3 separate regions of the Homo sapiens genome follow, and regions 1 and 3 are each linked to region 2. Evidence: promoter capture Hi-C in 16 types of primary human blood cells and fetal thymus (Javierre and others, 2016). All regions are on one chromosome and are shown on one strand. Each heading gives the region's core, a stretch centred on a gene start or on the middle of the fragment in contact. The rest is flanking DNA. Distances are from core to core; before and after follow the strand shown. Region 1 holds the start of OR8D4 (olfactory receptor family 8 subfamily D member 4). Region 2 holds the start of OR4D5 (olfactory receptor family 4 subfamily D member 5). Region 3 holds the start of OR10S1 (olfactory receptor family 10 subfamily S member 1).

Region 1 (4,380 bases), core at 1,051-3,550, 37 kb after region 2:
AAACCTATATGCTCAGTTTTTTGTCTTTAATATCATGGGTTTTTTAAAGCATGTTTTAAAATCTGTCCTGAGTGTTACAAACACACTGACCACTCTTATATTTAATTCTCCTGCATGCCCCCTAATTCCTACTGGGCTCCCTCTCCAAGTAAAATGTCTTATTCTGCTCATGTTCCTTGTTTTATTCTAGTGTCCTGCACTGTTCTTCCCTCTTCTCAAGCCTGTGAGGTTTCTTTTTCCTGTGTTCTCACTTTCTAAAACATTTCTGTGGTTTAGGTTTGTACTACACAGTGTGGTCTATGAACCAGTAGTAGCAGTATCACTCAGAGATTTTTTTAGCAATGCACAGTCTCAGGCCCTACCTCACACCTGCTGAGTGAGGATCTACATTTTAGTGGGATTCTCACATGATTTGTGAGTGCATTAACATTTGAGAGGCGCTATTTTCAGTTATTTTCTCCTAGAGCTGAAGTCATCGATCTTCTTTCTTGTTTCCTTCTCTAAACTTTTCTGATTCATTTTGTGCCAGAAAGCATTACCTGATTATGTAAAGCCCATCTTTGAAGACATCTTCTCAAGGAAAGCCTTCTCAGATGAAGAATAGAAAGTGTACAATTTTACATTTCAGTATTTTGCCACCTATTTGAAAACTCACAGATTCCATGGCAGTGTAATGTGCATGTCAAATAGATTATTGCAACAAATTGTATTCTGTTTTTGCATTTGTAGGAAGAAAAATTATACACATTCCATCTTAGTCCACACAAAAGTAAGCAATGATAACCAGCATCTACTTTATTTAACCAACCGATAAACAGTAAACTTGACTAGCCTAGGGATACAAATTTATGAGGTTGTATTTCTGACCAAAATAATCTACTACATTGATTCAGACCTCATTCAGGACTCAGGTGGTTTTTAGCAATTTAAAATCATAAGAAAAGTGTTTTTAAACATTTCAATGCATCTCACAGTATTATTAAAACTATGACTATTGAAAGTATTTTGCAAAGGTAAATGCTAGATCAGCATTGCCCAATAGACATATAATGCAGACACACGGGCAATTTAAAACATCCTAGAAGTTCATTTTGTAAAAAGTCAGAATAAAAAGATAAAATACATTTTACTAGTATGTTTTGTTTAACTCAGTTCAGTCCTTGATATCCATAGGAGACTGGTTCCTGGACCCCTTCAGATACCAAAATCCCTGAATGCTCAAGTCCCTGATTTAAAATGGTGTCGTATTTTTATGTAACCTAACTAAGCACATCCTTTTGTATACTTTAAATCATCTCTAGATTACTTATAATACCTAATATAATGTAAATGCTAAGTAAATATTTCTTTTAGTATATTGTTCAGGGAATAACAAGAAAAATGTCTGTACATATTCAGTACAGATATAACCACCCATTAAAAAAAAATCTTCCATCTGCCATTGGTTGAATCCACAGATGTGGAACCCACAGACACACAGGCCAACTGTACATGCAAAATGATGTACATGTACATCATTTCAACATATAATTCATATTTTAAAAATAATGAGATATTTTACATTATTTTATTATACAAATCTTTGAAATCCATAGTGTATTTTATACCCGGCCAGATTTCAAATGCTCAGTAGCCACCTATGGCTAGTGGCTATATTACTGGACAACAGAAGTCTAGAATGTGATCTTTTTCCCTAAATCTTTCAAATCTGAATTGTCCCCTTTTAAAGAAAGAAACCATTAGTACAGAGGTAACAGAAAGACCATGAACCCTGAGTTATAAGATGCAGTATCATTTTCATTTCTAAGATTTACAGTGCAACCTTTGACTCATAAAGTCTCTCTGAACTTCATATTTTAATCTGTAAAAAATAATAAATACTTCAAAAGATTGTTATGCAAATCAAATGAGACAATAACTGTGAATGTATTTTACATATTATAAGGTTCACATAAATATATTTGTAAATATATTTTTAAAGCAGGTGATTTCACAGATTAATTCATATATTAGACACAAGATACTTAGGTAAGGTGACTGGACAATGCATAAATGAGTCTGAGATGGATGCCTATGGCCTCTTCCCTAAACTTCTGTGACTCAGTGGCCTCAAACATGCAGCTCGAGAACCCATGGGGACAATCGGGAATTGATTTCAGAACACATTTTAATATACTTATAATATGAACATCATAATTCTGAAGCTCACCTTTTTCCTCCTGAAGACTGTAGGTGAGTATCTCTTCTTTCTCCTAACCTCATCACTTCAGGAGTAGAGATGGATTGATTTTACCTTCTTCTTTAAGTGTCTGAGTGACAACAGCTAACAAGAAGCTATGACTTTTATTCTCAGTTCAGGTATTTTGTGTCAAGAAATATAAAGACCAGTAGTCCCAAGGGTTTCTTGTCTCCTGAGGTACAGCAGCCTATGTATTTGTAAGAACTATCCATGAACTGGCCTATCATTTTGGGAATCTAACATGGATTAGTCACACTAATGCCCCTTGCCATTCAGTCGGGGAAGATACATGGTCTAACACATGGCTTGCATTTTAAAATGTTGAACAAATGAGGCATCATAGACAGTGCTTGGTATAATAAGCAGTAGGTAGACTTTGAGGTCAGAGATGGAACAGGTCATTACTGTCTAGAGCGATAAGGACGATCTTCATGGAAAGGTAGATTGTAAAATATGCCTTCAAAGGTGGGGAGGATCCATTTAAGCTGAGAGGATATGAAAGAATATTCAAGACGTAGATAAAGGCATAAGCAAAGGAACTGAGAAGTAGAAAACCTAAGGAATATGTGAAGAACACTGGGAATAGCTGAAGTGTTTCTTGGATGAAAGCAGTAGATTCAGTGTTTCTAGTGTCTGCTAATGATGGAAGAAGAGTCAGAGGAATGAGTCTGAGTCCAGCCCTCCAGTCTGTTCTAATGGCTTTCCAGGACATCTGGAAGAATGTGCCTGGTGATCCTTGGGTGAGCCTTTTGTGGCTCTGTTAAAATAACACATGCACTTAAAGCCTCCACATTTTCAGGGGCAAACAGCTATATTCAGATCTGCCTTTGGGGAAAACTGTGACACCACTTCAGATTATCTCATAATCAATAGTGTCTACCATGTCAAAGACACTAAATTTCTGGAGATGGAGCCAGGATAAATAAAGCATGGTCCTTCCCCCATTCATATTGGATGGTTATTAAAACATGTTTTAATGTCAATTTATTTCCTTGGGAAAAGTGCTTTGGTACCATTCCTATTCCCTTAACTATTCTCCCAGTGTACTGACCTCTGCTTTAACATTGTCCCCCCATACATGTATTTGTGCCTGTCTTCCCTGCTCTTTGGGAATTGCCCCCCCGCCGTTGAGACAAGGGACAATTTCTCATTCATTAGGGCCTATCGCAATGACCGGCTTAGAGTAGAATTTACTTTTTTCAGCATCATCCTCATTCCTACCCAGCATCTAGTTCAATCAGAACACTTTGTTCTCTCCTGTCTAGAAGATCGTGATCTGAAATGCTGATTAAAATAGGCCAACTTACAGGAGAGGATTTTCACTTACTAGATAAATAACAAAATGAGATCAATTCTTAACCAGGGGAAATCAGTCATGAATGAGGAAGCTTATGGTATTAGAAGAGCAGATATGTAACACACAATATTCTTGCTTATTCTTAAAATCAAATATTATAAATAACCATCAATCCTACTTATACTTGTCCAAGCAAGCTTATTGCATAGAGGCCTACTGGAGTCAAATGCTTAAAACACAAAACTTCAGCTATAGTCTAGATACCCATTACCAGCCTGTGAATTATACATATTATGAATAATGTTTAGTGAAGTAAATCCCTGTTATGATCATGTGTGTAAGCGAGAGTGTGTGTGTGTATGTATTGCTGCCTCACTATGCAAATAGTTTATTTTGAAACTAAAAAATATTAGTGATTTGCTACACAAATATAATATGGAGCATATCTGATTGCAAAAAAACAAAAAAAAAGCAAATGAAGAAATATAATCCAAAGGCAAAGAGAAATGTTCAGATTATATGTTAGTCTTCTTTGTTAATGTGGGTAAGTCAAAGTTAACTTAGCTATAGCAATCTCTTTATAGTTATGTTAGAGATTCCTTTCAATGTGTACAGGAAGTTTTTGGTCAGAAATGAGAAAAGTATAAAGTCAGGTGGGCTAGTATAAAGCTGGGAATCTAAAGAGGTTGTTTTGTTGTTCTTCTTGTTGTTATTGCTATCTGGGCTTTTGTTTATTTTTAGTTTGTAACCCTTCAGCTAGGGCCTTCTGAGTACTCAGTAGGAGTGTCTAGGTTTGGGAAGAACCACAGGACCATTAGCCGCCTCCTACCACTCTCACTATCAC
Region 2 (4,377 bases), core at 1,306-3,805:
ATATTATTAAATCTCTAATATGGCAAGGCTCCAACTAGGGTGAGCCAAGGAAGATGTCTACAGAACAAATTTTAAAGAGACATGCACTTTTAGGGGAGTGTTAGCGCAGGGTCAGGCTGTGTACAAACTCGATAGTAAATGTCTGCTCATTGTTGACATGAGGCCCCTCTGTTGCTGCACCCTCATCTAGGCTGTGGTGCTAGGCTTGGAGAATACAGTATTAAGTAAGCTAAACACGGCCCTTTCTTTTATAGAATTTATAGTATAGTGGGCGATGGCTGACAAAAAATATTAATAAATAAATACATAAATCAGTGTGTAATTGAAATCTGTGATAAATACTTTTGAGTTTTGTTAGAGAAACTAATAAGGACAAATTAATTCGGATTAAAGATCAGTGAACACATCTTTGAGGAAGTGACCTTTAGACCGAGGATTGAGATTGAGCAACAGTTTGCCAGGCAAGGATGAAGAGAAGAGCATCCCAGAGATAGCAAAGAGTATTTGCAAACTCAAGAAGTAAAGAGAAACTGACAGAAGTAAATGCAAACAGAGGGTTAGAAAAGAGTGGAGTTAGAGAAGTGAGATTGGAGAGATGGGTGGAGGCCAGGTCAGACAACATCTTATCTATAATAGTCATGTGGATTTTTTTTTTAAAGGCAATGGAAAGCCTCTGAGTGATTGTAAGGGAGAGAATGATCAAGTCATATTTTAAAAGATGGATCAAATGCCAAGTCTATCTATGATGTCAGTATAACTCACGATGATATAAACTCTATCTGTGATGACATAAACCCACAGATCCTTAGAATCTATAAGACGTTTTAGGTACTGTTGAGCACTTGGGCTCTGATGTTGTATAGACTTGGGTTGAATTCCAGAAAACAAGCTCTGTAGCCTTAAGTAAGTTATTTAATGTCTCTAATTTGTAATGGACTCATGTTTAAAGTAAAGATGATACCTACCTCCTAAGAATTTTGAGAAAATTAAAATAATAAATGTAAATCACCTGGTACAGTGTCTGGAACATAGTAAGTTCTAACTAAATGTTATTAATATGATGATGATGATGACACTGATGGCAACAACAGTGACCCTAGGAAACTATGAGGAAGAAAGTGATTTGCCCAAGGTAATTTCCTTTTTCCTCATTGACGAACAGTCAATCAATCAATCAGTCTCCACTGGGACTCAGGGTCCAATATTTCAAGAGAACCCTTGTCTCAAAGAAATTTAAAAATATTTTAAGCTCTTCCAATGTACTTTGTGTCCAAAAAGTGATATCAGGAAAGAGACACCAGATTTACTAGTTGAAACTTTCTCAGCAAGGCCAACATCATTCTTACGTGGGAAAGTGGCCCCTGAGCCAAACAGTACTTCTACATAGAACTTGATACTTTTTATCTGGGAGGCATTTAGAAGCAGTTCTAAGACACTCATCCCATCTTCTATTGTGGCTAATAGTTCAGGTCACCAGAACCTGATTGAGGTTAAGAACAATGGAGAAGAAGTAGGCATAGATTTTATCTACCTCGAGGGTCCTATCCAGCAGGCTAATACCCTGTAGCATCTTTCAGATTCTCAGGTCACTGCCTCTGCTAATGTAAGGGTCTGTGCTCCAGGGGACCAATAGGGTCCTTTTTCCTCCTCCACAGCTTCTTCATGGCCATGATCACTTCCTTGTTTCTCAGGGTATAGATGGCAGGATTCAGCATGGGGGTGACAATTGTGTATAGCACAGAGACGGCCTTGTCCATGGGGAATGTCCGAAAAGGCCTTGTATAGACGTAGATGCAAGGCACAAAGATTAAGGTCACCACAGCAATGTGAGAGGCACAGGTAGACAGGGCCTTGCTGCGGCCCTCCCGTGAGTGGCTTCGGAGCATGACTAGCAGTGCTGTGTACGATCCCAGAAGCACCAGAAAACACATCAGGGTCACCAGGCCATTGTTAGACACCATTAAAAGCTCTAAGACAAAGGTATCTGTGCAGGCCAATTTGATCAGCTGAGGCACATCACAATAAAAGTTGTCCAGCTTGTCAGGCCCACAGAATGGCAGCTGGATAGTCAATGCAATCTGTACTATGGAGTGGATGAAGCCCCCCACCCAGGAGGCTGCCATAAGGAGTGCACAGACAGTCTGATTCATAATGAGCGTGTAGTGCAGGGGCTGGGAAATGGCAATGTAGCGGTCATACGCCATGACAGTCAGCAGGAAGATCTTGATGCCTCCAATGAAGTGGAAGAAGAAGAGTTGAGTCAGGCATCCACCAAAGGAAATGGTAGGGTTGCCTGAGAGCAAGTCAACCAGCATCCTAGGTGCTGTGATGGAAGAGTAGCAAAAGTCCAGGAAAGAAAGATTGCCCAAGAGAAAATACATGGTTGTGTGCAGGTGTGGGTCGGAGGTCACTATGACCACAATAAGAAGGTTTCCCACTACAGTCATAAAATACACAGCAGAGAAAACAGTGAAGAAAACAAACCGAAGCTCCCAAACCTGAGAGAGCCCCAGTAGAACAAATCCTGCCACCTGGGAATGATTTGCTGGATTCATCTGGTTGGTATGACCTTGTCAATGAACCTGCTAAGAAAAAAGGACATATTATTCAGGGGATCTGCAAAGTTCTCTAAAATAATTCCCTCTGCTTCCTCTGGGAAATTCTTCACTCTTTCATTTTCCATAAGGAGAATGTTGTAAGTGGTTCTGCAGGACACCAAGCATTTGAACATCATATATTGGTGATATCAAACTCCAAAGGCATAAAACTCAGGATAGCACTCATACTATTTCTGGTTTATGAGAATCAGAAGTAATAAGCCCTCAAAAATTGAAAATGGCATGTAGAGAAGAGAGTGTTAAATGGAAAATGAATTTTGATTCTTCCAGTAACTAGTTGTGTAAACAGAAACAATTATCTGCAGTTCTTTAAGCCTCGCTTCCCTTGTCTATGCTATAAAATTAACCAAAATGTCCTCAAAGTCTCCTTTACTTTAATATTTGATACCATATATGGCCTTAATTTAGAAAACCTGATGCATCCCTGCATGCCAGACATTTAGACGAAGCTTCCATGGATTGACAGAGTTCTAATATTTGTCCCAAAACAACAGGAAGTGCAAGTTGTCCATTACAGCCCTGAATAAATATTCAGTTGCCTTCTGATATAGCTCTATCTTGGATATACATTTTCAGGCCTAGCAGGATACTGAAGCCATGGGTAAGGGAGCAGAATAGAAATCACCGGGGCCGGGCGCGGTGGCTCACGCCTATAATCCCAGCAGTTTGGGAGGCCGAGGTGGACGCATCACCTGAAGTCAGGAGTCCGAGACCAGCCTGGCCAACATGGAGAAACCCTGTCTCTAATAAAACTACAAAAATTACCTGGCATGATGGCGGGCACCGGTAATCCCAGCTACTCAAAAACTCAGAAATTGAAAAATGGGATGAGCAGCAGGCCGAGGCAGGAGAATGGCGTGAACCTTGGGGGTGGATACCGCCGTGAGCTGAGATCACGCCACTGCACTCCAGCCTGGGAGATGGAGTGAGACTCTGTCAAAAAAAAAAAAAAAAAAAGAAAAGAAAAGAAAAAGAAAAGAAAAGAAATCACTGCCCCCTGCACTTTAAAAGGGTAGTGAAGAACTACTAGTCTCTCTAAAATTAGATAAGAAAACGTGATAGAAAAAGCTTCCTGTCTGGTGGCTCTGGGAAACCCAGAGAAACTATAGTCCCGGAGGAAACATAGGAGAAGGCAACAAGAATATTAAATCACTTCCGAATCGTTTGAATGTCAATATTAATTTCAGAGACATTACCCAAAGAATAATTTTTATTCATAGGGGAAGCAGCAAGAGGAAGCTATAAATATTAATTAAAATTTTAAAACCACCATCTAAAAACGCAGAGCTACCTTGGAAACCTTCAAAATAAAAGGGGTGTTTTCATACACTTAAGTACTTTAAAACATACTCAGAAAGATGACTAAACAAACTCTAGAATAAAAGCCTTCATGTTGCTGAATAGAACCGTGAAGTGTCATTTCAATTTAACTTAATATTAAGTATGGATTTCAATTATATTTTCTTTCCTTTGTCCATTCATTCAGTAAGCATTTATTCAGCACCTTCTACTTACTAGGCACTGTGCTAAATACTAAGGGGTTAAAGAGTAAGCTACAATGATTTAATACATCTCTAAGTGTGTAACACTCTGCATAGGAGTGTTCCAACACCTGCCCATCTATTAGGTTTCATCAAAACATATTGATATGGTTTGGCTCTGTGTCCCCACCCAAATCTCTTCTCGTATTGTAATCTCCACATGTAAAATGAGGGACCTGGTGGGAGGTGATTGGATCATGGGGGTGGTTTCCCCCATG
Region 3 (4,485 bases), core at 766-3,265, 38 kb before region 2:
ACTGACTTCAGGTCTCCTGAGAGCTGTTTTCTTGCTTAATAAAGCTCCTCTGCACCTTGCTCACCCTCTAGTTGTCCTCTAGTATCCTCATTCTTCCTGGACGCAGGATGAGAACTTGGGACCCACCGAACAGGGGGAGCTAAAGGTGCTGTAACATGTTCCTGGCTCATTTGCCAAGCTGTGGGTGGTGACATGCTCCCGGACTATGGGAGTAAAAAGTGGTGACCCTCCTGGTGGCCCAGACCTCGGGACTCCCCAAGCCAGAGCTGCTGTAACACTATAGCCCTCCCACCCTCTGCCAGTGCTGGGTGGCCACCCAATGGGACAGGAAGCAGAGGTGGGCCAGGCCAGCCCAGGAGCTGCAGGTCAGAGTGGGGTGGTGGGACTGAAAGGGCTGTAACACAAACAGACTGAAACACAAACCCCCAAACTCACCCCCTCATTGGCTGCATTGTGGGTGACGAGAAGGAAAGAAGAGCTTCTTGGAGCCCAGACCTCAGGACTCCCTGAGCCAGGGCTGTGACAGGCTGTAATACCCTCTTTGGGCTCTGCAGTTCCTGGCATCTCTGAGCTTTTGGGTGCCCCCATATTCCCCTCGTCCAGATGCTGGTGCCCATAATGGAAACCACTTGCAGTATGCCTGGTCCAGCTATAGCCTCACATGAAGCTGGTGCCTCTGCTGGCACCTGGAGCTGCCCATCCCACCACAGCAGCAAGTGTGCCTGGCTGTGTGCAGTGGCCAGACCCCTGTGCTTGCTCACTCACACACCTCTCGCCTCTCCCACCCTTGGCAAGCATGGAATCCAGGCTGGTAGCACGAGCCAAGTGCAGCCTGCCAGGCCAAGTGGGTGAAAAGAACCCAGCAGCCATGAGCAAACTCAAGCAGAGGAACCACCAGCCACAGAGGTTTCTGTCTGGAAAAGTGACATCCTAAGGATCCTGTGACAAGATCAGAGAGAGATTATGGCAAATTGAGGAGATGAGGCAAATAGCATCCCTGGATAACAGGAGTTTCTTAGGGGATTGCAGAAGATAAAGATTTTTTTCATGATAATGGAAATAGTTTACAGATAATTCTGAATGTAGGACAGAGATACACTTTATATCTCAGGCACTAAGGAACAGTAAGAAAAGATATATTCGAATTTTTTTAAGAAAACTGGCACAAAAAAGTTGAATACTGAATCATTTGGTATATCAGGGAGTAAGGAAGAGATGGGACATAAAATACCATTGTGAAAATCTAGGTGTAAAATATGAAGAGGTGGGTTTAGGTAAAATCCACAGGAATTGAAGAGACAACACGGAAAAAAAGCAGTTTAAGGAAATTTTTCACCTAATGCAACATCTGTTAGGCTAACGAGGTGAAAGATGGAAGAATCAAAGAGAACTCTTTAAATCTCAATTACAGTCCAGTGGAAAGGCTCAACAAGAAAGGAAAAGGCAAACAATTCCCCAAATTTTGAAACAGAGCTTTACAGGAAGAACACAAAGTGTATAGAAAAAATTGTCCTGATAATTATTCAGTCTATTCTCCAAGCCTCAATTGTTACACACTTGAGGATTGTGGGTAACTGAAATTCCAAAGAACTCCTCTGGTTGAGTAATGGGTGGGGCTGCTGTGTTTCTGGCTGATGTAATAGCACCAAAACTCCAGGCAAGTCTCACCTGAAAATAGGATGCATCTCCCTGATGACACAGCAATAAGAACCTGCCTTTCTACATCTACAGCATGGCAGGGTACATAGAGTAGGAGGGCAGAGGCATCACAATTCTGGAATATTTGCAAAAAATACTCATTGAGAGTAGGATTTATAATCCATATTTTTATTGTCATTATTTAGGGAGTGCATTTCTGCAAATAATTCTTACAGTCCTTTATATACCTCACCAAAACTGCAGATTTTGTATTGAAAGATTCATTATGAAGAAATAAACAGCAAGGAAGCACTAGACTAGAGCAGAACAAAACTGTAAGATGAACTTGTACATCTTTCTCTTGCTTACTGGGTAAGACCAAGGTGGTGTGGCTTGATGGATAATGACATCTCAGGAAAGGGATACAGCTATTTATTCCATTAATGTCAGTTTTGTTGCAAAGGGGATGACTAGCCGCTCTGTGTGTGAGAAGATGACCATGACAACGGAGAACCCCAACCAGACTGTGGTGAGCCACTTCTTCCTGGAGGGTTTGAGGTACACCGCTAAACATTCTAGCCTCTTCTTCCTCCTCTTCCTCCTCATCTACAGCATCACTGTGGCTGGGAATCTCCTCATCCTCCTAACTGTGGGCTCTGACTCTCACCTCAGCTTACCCATGTACCACTTCCTGGGGCACCTCTCCTTCCTGGATGCCTGTTTGTCTACAGTGACAGTGCCCAAGGTCATGGCAGGCCTGCTGACTCTGGATGGGAAGGTGATCTCCTTTGAGGGCTGTGCCGTACAGCTTTATTGCTTCCACTTTCTGGCCAGCACTGAGTGCTTCCTGTACACAGTCATGGCCTATGACCGCTATCTGGCTATCTGTCAACCCCTGCACTACCCAGTGGCCATGAACAGAAGGATGTGTGCAGAAATGGCTGGAATCACCTGGGCCATAGGTGCCACGCACGCTGCAATCCACACCTCCCTCACCTTCCGCCTGCTCTACTGTGGGCCTTGCCACATTGCCTACTTCTTCTGCGACATACCCCCTGTCCTAAAGCTCGCCTGTACAGACACCACCATTAATGAGCTAGTCATGCTTGCCAGCATTGGCATCGTGGCTGCAGGCTGCCTCATCCTCATCGTTATTTCCTACATCTTCATCGTGGCAGCTGTGTTGCGCATCCGCACAGCCCAGGGCCGGCAGCGGGCCTTCTCCCCCTGCACTGCCCAGCTCACTGGGGTGCTCCTGTACTACGTGCCACCTGTCTGTATCTACCTGCAGCCTCGCTCCAGTGAGGCAGGAGCTGGGGCCCCTGCTGTCTTCTACACAATCGTAACTCCAATGCTCAACCCATTCATTTACACTTTGCGGAACAAGGAGGTGAAGCATGCTCTGCAAAGGCTTTTGTGCAGCAGCTTCCGAGAGTCTACAGCAGGCAGCCCACCCCCATAGTCTGTGCTATCAAAACTCACAATTTGCCTGCCAGGAAAGCAACTATTCACATCTCAAATCATTCAGGTGGAAATCAGAATAACTGAGTTGCAACTCAGTCACACACTTTCCCCCAGCTTTGGCCAAATGGTCTACCTCACTCTCTCCCTTGCAAACACTTCATCTAGAAAATGAGGAGGCTGGATTAGATGATGTCTAGAGTCTCTCCAAAATCTATGTTCTATGGTTCAGAGGTATGTGAAATGCTATTCGTATCCTCATTTGTATTAGTAAATGATTGTTTTACTTTTTATGAAATAACTTTATTAAATACATACAGAATACTGTAAACAAAAATATAAAAGGCAATGAAAAAACCTTTGTATACATATTTCCCAGCTTAGAAACCACATTTTTTAAAATGATAAAATACAAGGAGAAAAGTGATTGTCCAAGGTGACTTAGAAAGTCACATTTTCTTTATTCTCCCACTCATGGTAGTATATACTTTAGGCCACATTGAGAGATAGAAATAACATGGGTTTTGGTGTCAATTGAACCTACCAGTATTCTAATACTGATCCAACCAGGTCTAGTTGTAGAATTTTGTACAGATGTCATAATTGCAGTTTTAGTCTCCACTTTTAAGAGTAAGATTTAAAATAATTGCTTTGTAGGATATTATGAGGTCTAAATAAAATAGTTATATTAAGTGTCATGTAAAATAGGCGCTCATGTTTCTTACCAAGCTGGTTGAAGAAATCAAAGAGAGCTTATGATACAAGCTAAGGTTCAAATTGTTTCTGAAAGATTAGCAAGGTTTTAATATCTTCATTGAGTTTATAGGGCAACTACAAAAGAAAGGGCATTTCTAGACTTCAAAATTATAAAAGATAACTCAAGGTTTTAGTTAAACCAGCTTACCATACAAGAGGAAGGAGTTGTGTTGTATTCACCTAACCTATTCTATAAGATGAAAATGTCCTTGAATGCCAACCTAAAGAATTCAGATTATGCCCTAGGCATCCTACCTGTTTACTTTTCCTCCTCCTTGTCATCTATAGAAATACCTTTATCCTGAGAAGCCACTTCTTTAAATGCTAAACCATGAGATAAATTAGAAAAGAGAGACAAAAAAAGGAGAAATGGTAGAATGGCCAGTTAATAAACTATTATAACATCAGAGACATAAGATAATAAAAGTATTGCTAAACCTAGATGAAGAGACACTTTATAGAATTAGATCAGAAGTGTTTTGAAGAGAAAAAATTATAAGACTATTAGAATGGGAATCATAATTATAATCATTTTTGACATATGTATGTACAAGGCACTGTACTAGTTGCTTGGTCTGCATTAATCCTCCTAAGAAATATATTTTGCAGCAATATTTTTATTGTTATTAA

The links. The method cuts DNA at HindIII sites, captures the fragments that hold promoters and counts their contacts. A CHiCAGO score of 5 or more calls a contact.
Region 1: the fragment with the promoter of OR8D4 here is called in contact with the fragment with the promoter of OR4D5 in region 2 in 1 of 17 cell types (neutrophils); the score reaches 7.5 in neutrophils.
Region 3: the fragment with the promoter of OR10S1 here is called in contact with the fragment with the promoter of OR4D5 in region 2 in 1 of 17 cell types (neutrophils); the score reaches 5.6 in neutrophils.

What each region holds. Positions count from the first base shown.
Region 1 is chr11:123,900,087-123,904,466 of GRCh38, reverse strand. It overlaps OR8D4 (olfactory receptor family 8 subfamily D member 4), which reads right to left and starts at 2,300. Exons shown (of 2, transcript NM_001005197.2): 1 at 2,210-2,300. The HindIII fragment of the contact is 7,569 bases long and covers 1-3,629 here.
Region 2 is chr11:123,937,795-123,942,171 of GRCh38, reverse strand. It overlaps OR4D5 (olfactory receptor family 4 subfamily D member 5), which reads right to left and starts at 2,555. Exons shown (of 1, transcript NM_001001965.1): 1 at 1,599-2,555. The coding sequence starts at 2,555. The coding sequence ends at 1,599. The HindIII fragment of the contact is 4,702 bases long and covers 1-3,069 here.
Region 3 is chr11:123,975,311-123,979,795 of GRCh38, reverse strand. It overlaps OR10S1 (olfactory receptor family 10 subfamily S member 1), which reads left to right and starts at 2,015. Exons shown (of 1, transcript NM_001004474.2): 1 at 2,015-3,135. The coding sequence starts at 2,132. The coding sequence ends at 3,100. The HindIII fragment of the contact is 7,911 bases long and covers 1-4,485 here.